3 separate regions of the Homo sapiens genome follow, and all the other regions are linked to region 2. Evidence: promoter capture Hi-C in 16 types of primary human blood cells and fetal thymus (Javierre and others, 2016). All regions are on one chromosome and are shown on one strand. Each heading gives the region's core, a stretch centred on a gene start or on the middle of the fragment in contact. The rest is flanking DNA. Distances are from core to core; before and after follow the strand shown.

Region 1 (4,141 bases), core at 136-2,635, 1.6 Mb before region 2:
TCTATAATCTTCATGACAAAGCAACTGGTGCCTGACTCAGTATTTGCTCAACAAATTTGGGGAGGAGTACATTATTAATTTGACTGTACCTCACAACATTTTTAGAGCTATCCATGATCTCTTAGTGACTGCTCTACCCACTCTCCTCTGTTTACAAGCAAATAACTGGAGCTCCCAGTGGGGAAAAAATTTGCTAATGTCTCACAGCTGGTTAATGAAAGCACTCTTTTCTGGCCCAGCAATCTTTCCACTTATCACACAACAGCTGGGTGTTGCTTGTTGACAACTTACCCAAGAGGAGGTGAAAGGTTCTAGAAGGAAGAATGCAGTACGGTCTGAAAACCCTTGCTCCACTGTTTGGCGACTCTGATTTCCTGTTTTCAAGGAAATCATGCTACTTCAGCTATCCCATGAATCCTGTGGCTTGGAAAACTTCTTCTCATCATAATTATCATGCCTCAAATGGAAGAAACCATAAGAGAATATACGGACTGGCAGTTTTCAAATTGTGTTCCAGGGATCCCAGGCCTGCTCTGAGAGGTGAGGAGGAAGTGAACTTCTGGGCTTTGGCGCCCTGCTTCCTGCTCAACCGAGGGAGCTCTTCTTTCATATGTTTTATATTTTTGGTTTCCATGTAAGCTTACATGGGAAAAGAAAGGCTCTACAGCTGAATAATGCTTATAATCCACAAATTTAATATAATCCTCTAATTTTGTAAGTGAGAAAATGAAAGCCCAGAGAAAGGAAGCAATTTGCAAGATGGTGGCAGAGCTAGGATTCACACCGACTGCTCCTGAATCCTCATGTCCTGACCATAATCTTTCCTCTCTATGAAGAATTCCTTCATATTATCTCACCCACCATGAAAGTAAAGGAGAAGAACATTGCAGAGATCTGGCTCTTGTTAACATCCCACTGCCAGTGAAGTTAGTCTCCAGACCTTTCTCCACCCTCAGACCTCAATTCTCTCTGTCTTTTTCTCTCCCCACTTCACTGATGCAATCACTAGCTGCTCTTTTGCCCTCTCCCGACTCTCAGGAAAAGTTGTGTTGTCATCACTTGGTGAAATAGCAGTTCTTCATCTTTATTCTAGCGGTTCAGGGAGAGGGAAGGCAGATTAATTACATTTGCAGCCTGAGCTCTCCCTATGGAAAGAAAGTTGTTACTTTCAGAAAAAAAGGGTTTTAGACTTCTGTGAAAGTATTATTTTATTCAGGGCAGGGGTGTGACAGCAGGAAAGTTTGTTTCCCACAGCCCTGAAACCACAATACATGCATGGCAACCTGTTACATCTAAGAAAAAGTTAACAATTACAAAATAATTATAACAAAAGAGAACTTGGCTGGGTGAGCTGATGCATGGAAACCCTGCCCTGCATATACTCAGGTATAGACACATTTCTTCAAACACAAAGATTCAAGCTCAAAACCAAGAAAGGGAAATACCTGAAGGCCAAAAAGAGAGAACTCAAAATCAGAGCAGTAAGTGGGAGTTGAAGCCCTGCAGCTAAGGAGCTTGTTGGGCCTTACGTAGACTTAATGGCAGAGTCTTGGGGCTTTAAGGGCTGTGGGTGGGGATCCAGGCTGCTGGTCCTGTGTACAATGTTCAAGGGGGTGATGGAACTGTCTTGGGAGTCAAGAAGGCTTATGACCACATAGGTGTGACGTTTTTGTTCACATTGTTCCCAAACCAAGAAATTACCATAAACACTGGTTCAGCATAAGGCCTCATATACTCAGCATATTCAGTATAAGTTTATTCAGTATATTGAATCTAAGTCCTCATATACTGATAGAGTAGGCCTCAGCAGAGGCAAAGCTAAAACTATCTTGGAGGGACAGTTCCATAAACCGGAGCAAACCAGCCTCCCACAGCAAACAACCCCAGTGGAAATGCAGCTCAAGACTCATAAGTTACAAACCACACAAGGAAGCAAGTCACAAAGGGGAAGTATCAGCAGAAACAAAACACGGAAAAATTTCCACACCATGACCTGGATTCAACAAGATATTCTTTTTTTTTTTCAAGTAAAACATCATGGTCATAATTTTGAAGAAGTTTGTTATCACTGGATTGCAGAATCACAGACTGTGTGTCATTCAGATGCTGGAGAGAATCTCAACAAGCTTTTTTATTTTACAGATGGGGAAACAGAGACTCAGAGAGGGGAAGTGACTTGTCTAAAGTCACCCTTAGGTTAGTGGGAGAATGAGGAATAGAATCAAAGTTACCAGGTTTCTAGCCCTGTGCTACTTTTTCTGTCCCATGAGGCCCTAATTTCTCAAGGTAAAAATTAAAAATCTAACTTGAAGAGAGGACCAGTAGAAAAGAGAGAAAGACCTATCAAGGATCTAGGAAAAGCTGGAGTGAGGACCCTAGTTCTAATTAGCAAAGCTCCTATTTGGCTCTCTAATAACTAGAAATTTTAAATAAATGCCTCCTGTCTTGTATTTGCATTATGCTGACCTGGTTCTCTTTCCTAGTTTTCCCCTACTTAGTCCTTCTCCTGCTGTTGGCATAATGAAAGTGTTATTACAATTGGGGCAAGTCAGGTTCTGTGAGAGTTTCTTCTTCCTTCCCAACCTTTGCCCCACCCAGCTTCTATATCTATGTAGGAGGGTTAGGAACAGGGAGAGGGGTAAGACCAGGTACCTTTAGGACAGACTCATTAGCTGCAGATATCAGGCAAAGATGGGAAGCAAGGTGGGTACGGAACTGGCTATGGGTTCAGCCTTGCAGGGCCAGAGCCTTGAAGACCAGATCAGATGTAAATAAGGCCAAAGCTTTTGGCATAGAGGAGCACTGTCTTTAGGCTTTGTAATTGATTCATTATGTAAGACATCAAGTTTACACCATCCCACGTTTGCCAAGGATATAACTTCAGACCAGAAAACCAATTCTTTTATAGTAAGAAACACAAATAGCACAAACTAGACCCAGGGTAACTGTTCAAAAATATTGTAGTAAATTCAAATAAAAATTTCATAATAACGTTACTTAAGCTTGAGTATTCCATCTCAATGAGTCATGGCCTGCTTTTCCAGGGAAATGTTTGAGAAATGCTGTCAGATTTGTCTGTTTTATTCACGTCTTTATTCATTCAATATAAGCAAACTATGTACCAAACATTGCTACATTCCAATAAGAGAATGATAAACCAATGACACAGTCCTCTGTCATTAAAGAGCTTACATTCACTGGAGGAGAGAGTCAAACAAAAAGTCAATTGAAATACAGAGTAATAACGCAAGGGGTGCTATTGGAGCATGTAAGAGGAAGATTCTGGTATTATTTAATGCCCTATCATTTAATAACGGTTTATTGGGAGGTGCAATCCAAGGGCAGCAAATGTGAGGGAGCAAGGGAGATAAGGTAGAGAAGGAGAGGAAGCAAATCTAGAGGGGTGTATTACTGAGCTGATCGCAACTCAGTGAAAAACACAGGTGGTTAATATCTTTAACCAGACCATACGTAACCACCAGGGCTCAGGACAGTCCGTTGGAGGAAGAAAGGAGAGGAAATTGTCTGCTAGATCTCTCCTGTATCTCAGCTCTAATTCATCAATGTTCACTGCCCTGTGGAATTAAGTCCTCTTAACTTCTGGGCTGTGCAGCACCTCTGGCCAGACACTGGAGAAGCCAGATGCCACACACAATGACTTGGTGCTTCAGTGGAGTCCAGATATGATGAGAGGAACCAGAATCTCTTTAAGGTCCTTCATGTTTAGGGTCTTCAGATAAAGTACAGGATGCTCAGTTAAAATTGAATTTTCGATAAACAATGAATAATTTTTTTATTCCCCAAGTATTGCATGAGACATATTTATACTAAAAAACATATTCACTGTTTATGTGAAATTCAAATTTAACTGGGTGCCCTGAATTTGTATTTGTTAAATCTAGCAACCCTACTCTTGCTGGACTTGCATAGGAACCACTGGGGAGGGGGAGACCATGCCAGAGCCCAGGCCTCTTCCTGGGAGAGAGGCAAGTGGTTTTGGAGGTGAGGGGATGGAGGACAACCTGGGAATCTACACAGAGGGAGTAGCCAAGGCTTGGGAAGCTGGTGCTGCTGATGGAATCTAGGGAGGCACATAAATTGTTATCTTACAACATAGGCCTATGGATTCAACAGTGGCTTC
Region 2 (4,226 bases), core at 681-3,180:
ACTAATATTGACATAGTAATACAGAGTCATGAAAGGCCATGCAATTTTGGGAGTATAATACTGGGAACACAAAAGAGAACAGCATCTGAGATGCTTGGGGGCTACACAGTAGAAGGGAAATCAAAAACCTAACAATTTATTGGGTATAAATAAAGATGAACCAATTCTTAGCAAAAGAATGTGCTGCAGATACTAGGATGAAACCACAAGGGTGAGTATGGTTCATCAGAGTCAACAGTTTGAATCCATACTAGTATCAAAAAAGTATACAAGAATATGTATGCCAGCTGGGCACGGGGGCTCACGCCTGTAATCCCAGCACTTTGGGAGGCCGAGGCGGGCGGATCATTTGAGGTCAGGAGTTCGAGACCAGCCTGGCCAACATACCAAAACCCTGTCTCTACTAAAAATACAAACAAATGAGCAGGGCGTGATGGGGCATGCCTGAAATCCCAGCTACTAGGGAGGCTGAGACACGAGAATCGCTTGAACCCGGGAGGTGGAAGTTGCAGTGAGCCAAGATAGCAGCCACTGCACTCCAGCCTGGGCGACAGAGCCAGACTCCGTCTCAAAAATGAGAAAAAAAGTAATATGTATGCCATATTGAGGCACAGAGTAAACTATGAAATGGAAATATGTATATGTAAAACAAACAATACAGGATATGTGGTTTGAAGGCTTTAATAAGGTTTAATACAGGTATTTCCTTAAATAGGTGGATACCAGCAGTACCAAGGACAACACAACTATTTTTTGTTGAAATAAGCGGTGTAACAGTACAATAGAGTAAATCTAAATGCACAGTAATGGAGGTACCATGGAATAATTCACATGTCAAGGTATGGGAGAAAGAGCCAAGAAGTTTAATGTGGGTGTTATCATTATATACCGAGGTAGCAAAATACATGGCAATATAATTTTGTAAACATTAAGTTTATACAATGGGTGATAATGAGCATTCTGAAGATATTTGATCCAGGACAGAGGTATACTGAGATAGAAGGATGATATGCAAATGTTAGATCAACTTGGTCAAGATGGCATTAACCAGGAAGTGAAGAATCCAAGGCAAAAAATAGTCTAGCGTATAACGTATATGTGATCCTACAACTGCCTTCCTAACTTTTAGCAACTTTCTTACTTCTTATTTCAGTGTTTCATTTGGCCAAGTGGGTAAAACACTTTCCACCTGCCTGCCCCAAATATAGGTAAAATATTGACAAACGCATTCGGGCTCCACTTTAAAAAGTACAAAGTACTAAACGCATGGAGCACTCGGCTGGTGGCGGTAGGAGGAGGAAGCGGACGGGTGAGAGAGAACAGGTAACAGGATGAAGCTTGAGCCAAAATAAGTATCAGCAGAGTGGAGCGAGGGACTCGAACCGCAGAGCGGTAAAAGGGAAACAGCACCCGGTCCCCACCACGGGACTGGGGAAAGGAGAATCACCCGTTGGGGCAGGGCTGACGACCGCTGAAACCGAAAAGAAGGAATCCACGGCGGCCAGGCCCACCGAGGTTGAGAGAGCGGGCTGCGGGGACCGCAGAGCCCGAGGGCGCAGGGCCGGGGGCGGAAGGGGCGGCGGCTGGGCGCCAGGCACCGGGGACCGCGGTCTCGAGCTGAGTGGCCGTCTCTAACCCGTTCCGAGCCCTGGCGGTCGTGGATCCCCGGCCTCTACTCGTCGTCCGTTTCCAAGGCCCATGGGTCCCGCCGCGGTTGGAAGACCCGGCCCGGAGGAGAAATAGGGCCTTAATACCCTCCCCGTCTTCGGTCCCCCTTCCCTAGAGGTCACCCTCCCCTCCCACCTCGCTGGTACGGCACTTCCGGTTCCGCAGGGACCGGTGTCCTCCGCACTCACCCGCGAGCCCGGTGCCCGTCACCACCGCCGTCGTTGTCACCGCCGCCTCCCGGCAGTGCCGTCCTGCCTCAGAGAAGCAGCGCGCGGCCCCCGCACGCTCCACGCCCGCCCCGCTGCCGCGCGCTCCCGCCAGGCGTCGCTCGTCTCGGAGCCGGCGCGCGGCCGTTGCCCTCAGTGCCGGGTCTCGAACCCTTCCAGCGTTCCCATTGGCTCCCTAGTCCGGGCTCGCGCGACGTCTCGCGCGGCGCACGTTTGTCTCATTCATGCGGCTCGCGCTGCCGCGCCCAACCCCGCTCACTCTCCCATTCACCCATAGCCCCCACCCCGACTCCGATCTGGGGCGTGCGCGCGAACCCTGGCGACCGCGGCGACCTCGCGGCCTGATTGGCTGCAGCAACACAACGACGTACGCACGCGAGAAGACGAGAGCGCGCACGTAAGGCCGTGGGGTTGCGGGGACAACTAAGAGACAAGGATTGGCCTAATGCACAGGAGTCAGGAATGAGGAAATGGCCAGGCGAGTCTTCCCTTCTCCTGCGTCCTGTTGTATTCCCACTGAATCCAAGCAAAAACCCCCGGAAATAAGAAAAGAATTATGTGTGTGTACTAGAAGTACTCAAAAGCAAGCAGCTACCTTCTCGAATTCAGCAACCCCTCTCCTACTGAGGTGGTACAGTCCAGACAGGCTTCCAGCGCAGCCAATTACCGACGACTATCGCCGCTTCCTGCTTCAGCCCCTTCGCGGCGGATTGGCCAACCATTTGGCGACTAGGCCTCCCTCTTCTCCTTCCCATCTCCTTTTTTTTTTTTTTTTTTTTTTTTGATGGCAAAAACTTTATTTAAAACAATCTTGCTGGAGAAATCTTCAGTCCGGCGAGGTCGCTGGTCCGGGCAGAATCCAGGGCGATGGAATGGTCTGGGCTGTGTCTCCCACATGAAGGGGACGCCCGGACTTGAAGAGCCAATGTAGGGCGAGGCTCCTGCCAAGGGCCGGGGAGGGAGATGAAGAAGAGCAGGCGCCAGCCTTGGAGCCGTAGCGCTAACCGTGAGAGGGAAGCCTAAGGAGCGCGCGACCTGAGGCGGTGGCAGCACCCTCCCGCCCCCGGAGTGCGAGCCGGGAAGTGAACTCCCTGAATTCCATTAGTTTCCCACTGTCACACGTGGGATGGGCGCCCGCATCCCTCACCTCACCCAATCCTAGAATACAAAGCTAAAAGCAAAAGGTTCTCTAGAATAGCTACTGTCCCTGGCGAGCTAACTCTGCATAGGTCATAGTGCTACGCTTTGCCCTGATTAGCCCAAGACAGCTGTGAACCCAATAGCAATGCCCCATGTTCTCTCCCCATTCGGCTCGAGGCTATTTCTTTTTTCGAAAGCAACTCTAGCTATTACATAATGGTCCCTCAAAAAGGTGTTTCACAAGCCACTTCCCTGAAGCCGAGGCCCCTCACCTGTAAAATCCTGAGGACTGTCCTCGGGTTTGGTCTCAAATGTTGCTGGCTTTACTGTGGTTCTGACACTAGCATTAGGCAGTAAGGTAAAAGAGAACTACCTTCTGTTTTCTGGAATCTAGTTCCTTCTCTGACATGGCATATATTATAAGTTCTAGTTTATTCTTGTTAACAGCGTCAATCCAGCATTTATTGCAACACACTTGAGAGTTCTTTATAACGACTTTATATTTTTAAAACAGACCTGGCCTGGCGTGGTGGTTCACACCTGTAATCCCAGCACTTTGGGAGGCCAAGGCAGGCGGATCACGAGGTCAGGTGCTCAAGACCAGCCTGGCCAACATAGTGAAACTCCCTCTACTAAAAATACAAAAATTAGTCGGGCATGGTCGGGGGAGCCTGTAATCCCAGCTACTCGGGAGGCTGAGGCAGGAGAATTGCTTCAACCCGGGAGGCAGAGGTTGCCGTGAGCCGAGACCACACAACTTCACTCCAGCCTGGGCAACAGAGCAAGACTCCGTCTCAAAACAAAACAAAAACCTCTTTAGACCATATGAAAGGTAAATTATTGAAGATACAATATTGATATTTTATTTTTTACTTTTTGAGAGGGAGTCTCACACTGTCACCCAGGCTGGAGTGCAGTGGCGCGATCTCAGCTCATGGCAACCTCCTCCCGGGTTCAAGCAATTCTCATGCCTCAGCCTCCTGAGTAGCTGGGATCACAGGCATGTGCCACCACACCTGGCTAATATTTGTATTTTTAGTAGAGATGGGGTTTCACCATGATGGCCACATTGGTCTGGAACTCCTGACCTCAAATGATCCTCCCACCTCGGCCTCCCAAAGTGCTGAGATTACCGGTGTGAGCCACAGTGCCCGGCCTGATATTGGCATTTTCTACCTGTAAGCCATGTTT
Region 3 (4,172 bases), core at 372-2,871, 1.6 Mb before region 2:
GCAGTGGATTCCTGGGAGTGTGTCCAGCTTAGGAGATGCAGAGGCTGAGATGCTCTGGCCAAATGCTGGGAAAGGGAGGCAGCTAAGAGAGAGTTTCCACTGTTCATCAAATGCTGACCCCAGGACCACTTTGTCAAGAAGACCACACCTGCTCGGGCTTGGAAGGAGGGTTCCTGGTAGCACTCCTGGCCCAGCTCCAGCAGCAGCTGCACCCTGGGAGGTGGGGGCCTTTGGCTTCCCTGAGCCTGTGTCACTGAGCAGCTGGCTCCATGTGTGTCCGGAGCGCTGTCACTGGGGAGGGGGTGCAGGTTGTACAGGAGCGGCCCCTGTACTCATTGTCTCTACAACCTCTACCGTAATGATCAGAGATTACTGGGCCTGCGGCAAGGCCCAGCCAGCGTGGCCCTGGGGAGAACACATCACATCTGCTGGTGCTGCAGGCGGGGGCTGGGGGCCAGAGGCAGACCTGTTTCTCCCCGAGCACTATCCTGGAGCGGCAAGCTGTTCTGCAGCTGTCCCTGTGTGCTCAGCCACCCTCTACCTTGGATCCCCGCTCCCCTACCCATTGCTCTTCATACACCGTACCCTTTCAGACAAAGTTGGCTGGTCTCCCTTCCAGGCTGGGGACCACAGGGCAGCAAGGCCAAGCTTGGTCAGTACCACATCTGTCTGACAAGAGGACATTACCAGCTGGAGTAGGAGTGCTCTTCCGGCAGAGCCTACGGCACCATGGTGGTGCTGGCAGCCGGCCTCACACCTCATCTCCAAATACCTGCGGGGCCACTGCTCCTGTCCGTCCTAATCCAGATGTGCCCTTGTCTCTCAGGGAAAAATTCTCTCGGAAACCCCTGGACTTTAGCAAAATGGGGGAGGTATGGGAGGTGTGCAGCCCTCCTCTGCCCTGACCAGCGGTGGCCTTGGGCAAGTCACCTGACTATTGGACCCAGGGCACCCCTCCTAATACCCTAAATAGGAGGCATCACTGCTTTTTACAGGGGAGAAGATGGAGGTCCCAGGAAGTTAAGTGACCTGTCCAAAGTCACACAGCTGATGAGGGAAGAAGCTGGTCTGTGTTGGCTCACTCCCTTCTGGGCCCACAGCCCTGCCCAGGCCCTGCCAATAGACACTCTGGCTGGGTGGACCATGACAGCAGCAGCTGTCATTGACTTCACTTGTTGTCCCTCATTGCACCTGCCCCACAGGTACAATGGAGCTACAATAAGTTGTATTAGTTGCCCAGGGCAACATGGCTGGTGAGATGCTATCTTCTGTAAGTGGTTCACTCCCACTGGCCACAGCCAGCCAGGTGAGCAGAGGCTGGGCCTGGGAAGGCAGGGAGAAGGGCTCAGCCCAGCAGGAATCAAGGCTGGGAAAGGAGGCCTACGTGAGGTCATGCTGCACACCAGTACCCAAGTGGGACTTGAACCCAGGCGTCCAGCCTCCCAGGACTGGAACCTTAATTCCCTTATTTGTAAAATGGTGCTCCTGTGTATCTGTGTGGAGACAGAAGCACCAAGAGCCAGGACAGGCTCACTGTGTCAGAGTCACCCTGTGGCCTTGGACAAGCCATGTTCCCCTCTCCTAAGCCTCAGTTTCCCCACCTGCAAAATGAGGATAGTCCGGTATAGTGAGCCCAAGTCTCCCTTGCAGCTTGGACTCTGCCCTGGGCCTCATGTGAATGGGGCCTGGCCTGGCTCCCAGCCTGTGCTCCCCATCACTACACAGCCCCACCAAGCACCCCATGGCTGGCCCCTCCTCTGAGAAACAAGGACAACCTCTACTTGTGTTCTCCACCAGCTGTTGGGAATGTGAAATGAGGTGTGAGAGGGAGCCCGCACCAAGACACTGCTAACGGCTGTCCCAGCACAAGCCCATTCCTGGGAGCCTACGACTCGGCACGGTGGGGTTCCCGGGATTGTGCGTTTTCCCCAGATTTTGACCCCAGCAGACTCAAGGCCATCCATGAAGAGGGGAAGGGAGGGGACTTTGTTCCCTCCTCAGACCTCCCAGACAGAGCACAGCACCTCGTGCGGGAGCCAAAGAAGTTTATTTACTCCAAGGGGCGGCAGGAAGGCAGAGCGCTCAAGAGGAGAGACCCAGATATATCGACCAGGGGCTCCCCTGAAATTTGGAATTTCTCTTCCAAGCCTGAACATGGCATGTGATTAAATGCAGCCTGTCCAGACACCAGTGAGGGCCTCTAGGGCTGCTTGTGTGACTTTCTTCCTAGCTACGTCCACCCATCCCGGACACAGCCAGTGCATTGCTCTGTACTGACTTCCATTGCGGTCAATTGTCAAAATGAAACATTTGCAGAGGTAATGACTGCTCAGCATCTGACACAGTCAGGGGAAAAGACACCGCTGACTCTGCAGGATGGAGGGTCTAGGATCCATTGGCGGGAAAACACTAGTCAAGGGAAATGAGCATGATTTCCGGAGTAGAATACATGCATGGTCTGGAGTTAAGTAAACCGGAAAGTTTCACCCCCAAGACTCAATTTAATAAAAACTGCCCAACTCTGTTCACTCTTTATGATTAAAAGCAGCTTTAAAGCTGGCTGATTTCTTAGTCAAATGTGTAGCAAAGCTTTTACCTATCAATTTTTTTCGTGGTGAGTCATGGGCTGAAATACATCTTGCGCTCAATAAACTTCCCCACATCAACATTTCAAAGCACTTTTTAGGTTACAATAATGATATTTCACTTCCATATATGCATACATAGAATATATATTTTAAAATAGAGTGGGTTTTAAGAGTATACTGGGAGCCCTAGGAGTCTTCTATGGACAGAACAGGTTGGCCCATGGACTTCCAGCCAAAGGCTCCATGCCTTGGGGCTGCTTTGGGGGAGAGATTCACAGCTGGACTTCTCTATCTGACCATGCAATGTCAGCACCAATCACCCACAATGTTTTGCCCTCAAGAGACAGAAATAATGAAACTCAGAGGAATAAACAGTATTGATAACATACACAGGCTTAGAGAAACCAAGCCCAGTAATGATCATGTGACGGAAGACTACAGGTAGCGGTACTTTGATTGGGCTGGGATTATTGATAAATCACGTCTCTTTATAAGCATATATAAAATGAGCACGACTGAACTCATTCGTTAGTGAACTCTTTCACTAACTCGTCCATGACCTCCTTGCACTGGGCTTGGTGCTCTGTAATCACGGGCTGGAGAACCTCTATGAGCATCTTCTTGAGGTCACCAGTGAGCATGTCTCTGCTGGTGTCATCCTGCCCTCAAAAAGACAGCCATGGTGAGAGATGGCTCCACATGCCCTAAGTGGCTTCTTCCTGCCTCAGACACCAGGTCAGCCCACACCACCCTTGCAGAGCCAGGCGTGCAAGTGGCACTTAGAAGTGAAATCTGTTGTTACCATGACAAACAGCTGTACCTTCAGCTACACTTTTCTTAAAACAACTAGAAACCTGGCTGTGGCAGTAGCCATAACTTGGTCTCTCATAGTGAAAGGGCCAATGAGGAGGGCAGTCCCCACCTCCACCGACGCTAGGGACTGCTCCCCCAAGCATAAACAACAATAATTCCTGGCAGCCTTATGGCCTCTGTAAAATCTTGCTGATGTTTTTCTTTTTCTGATTGTAGTACATGCTCATTAAACAAATTTAATAAGGTACCCAAACCACAAAACAGCAGCAAACTGAAGAAAAAAATCACCTACAATTCCAGTGCCCAGAGGTGGGGCCCACTGCTAACATTTGGCACATTTTCTTTACATTTCGTTCCCTGTGCATTTCATTTAAACAATTAACCTCTCACTGCATTTTTCATTTGGTGTTCTTTTTTCATTATCCTAGGCATATTCTCCTGTGTCACTAAAGTCTTTTTTTTGTTTGTTTTTTGTTTTGTTAAAGAAATGAGTGTCTCATTATGTTGCCCAGGCTGGATTTGAACTCCTGAGCTCAAGGGATCCTCCCGTCTCAGCCTTCCAAGTAGCTGGGACTACAGATGTGTGCCACCATACCCTGCATATGAAAACTCTTTTAAAATAGTTCATGTCCCCATAATAACCTATCCTGTAACAATTCTAATTTAACATTTCCTCTGTTATACAGTTTCTTTTGAACTTTTTGCTATTATCATTTTAATGTCTTGGTGTGGAAAGCTTTTACATATTCAGGATTATTTCCTTGGAAAAAA

The links. Contacts are between HindIII fragments. The CHiCAGO score rates a contact against its expected background, and 5 or more counts as called.
Region 1: a contact is called between a fragment that was not itself captured here and the fragment with the promoter of ZDHHC5 in region 2, in 1 of 17 cell types (M0 macrophages). The highest score is 5.4, in M0 macrophages.
Region 3: a contact is called between a fragment that was not itself captured here and the fragment with the promoter of ZDHHC5 in region 2, in 1 of 17 cell types (neutrophils). The highest score is 6.1, in neutrophils.

Annotation. Positions count from the first base shown.
Region 1 is chr11:59,220,678-59,224,818 of GRCh38, reverse strand. No RefSeq gene overlaps it. Among named protein-coding and RNA genes, the nearest start is that of MPEG1, 9.8 kb to the right of the region's middle. The HindIII fragment of the contact is 1,487 bases long and covers 642-2,128 here.
Region 2 is chr11:57,665,818-57,670,043 of GRCh38, reverse strand. ZDHHC5 (zDHHC palmitoyltransferase 5) reads right to left here and starts at 1,930. Exons shown (of 12, transcript NM_015457.3): 1 at 1,857-1,930. RefSeq lists enhancers at 1,229-1,298, 852-1,489, 1,490-2,129, 2,299-2,878 and silencers at 1,409-1,608, 1,859-2,098. The HindIII fragment of the contact is 3,116 bases long and covers 1,340-4,226 here.
Region 3 is chr11:59,258,438-59,262,609 of GRCh38, reverse strand. It overlaps the pseudogene WARS1P1. Among named protein-coding and RNA genes, the nearest start is that of MPEG1, 48 kb to the right of the region's middle. The HindIII fragment of the contact is 1,941 bases long and covers 651-2,591 here.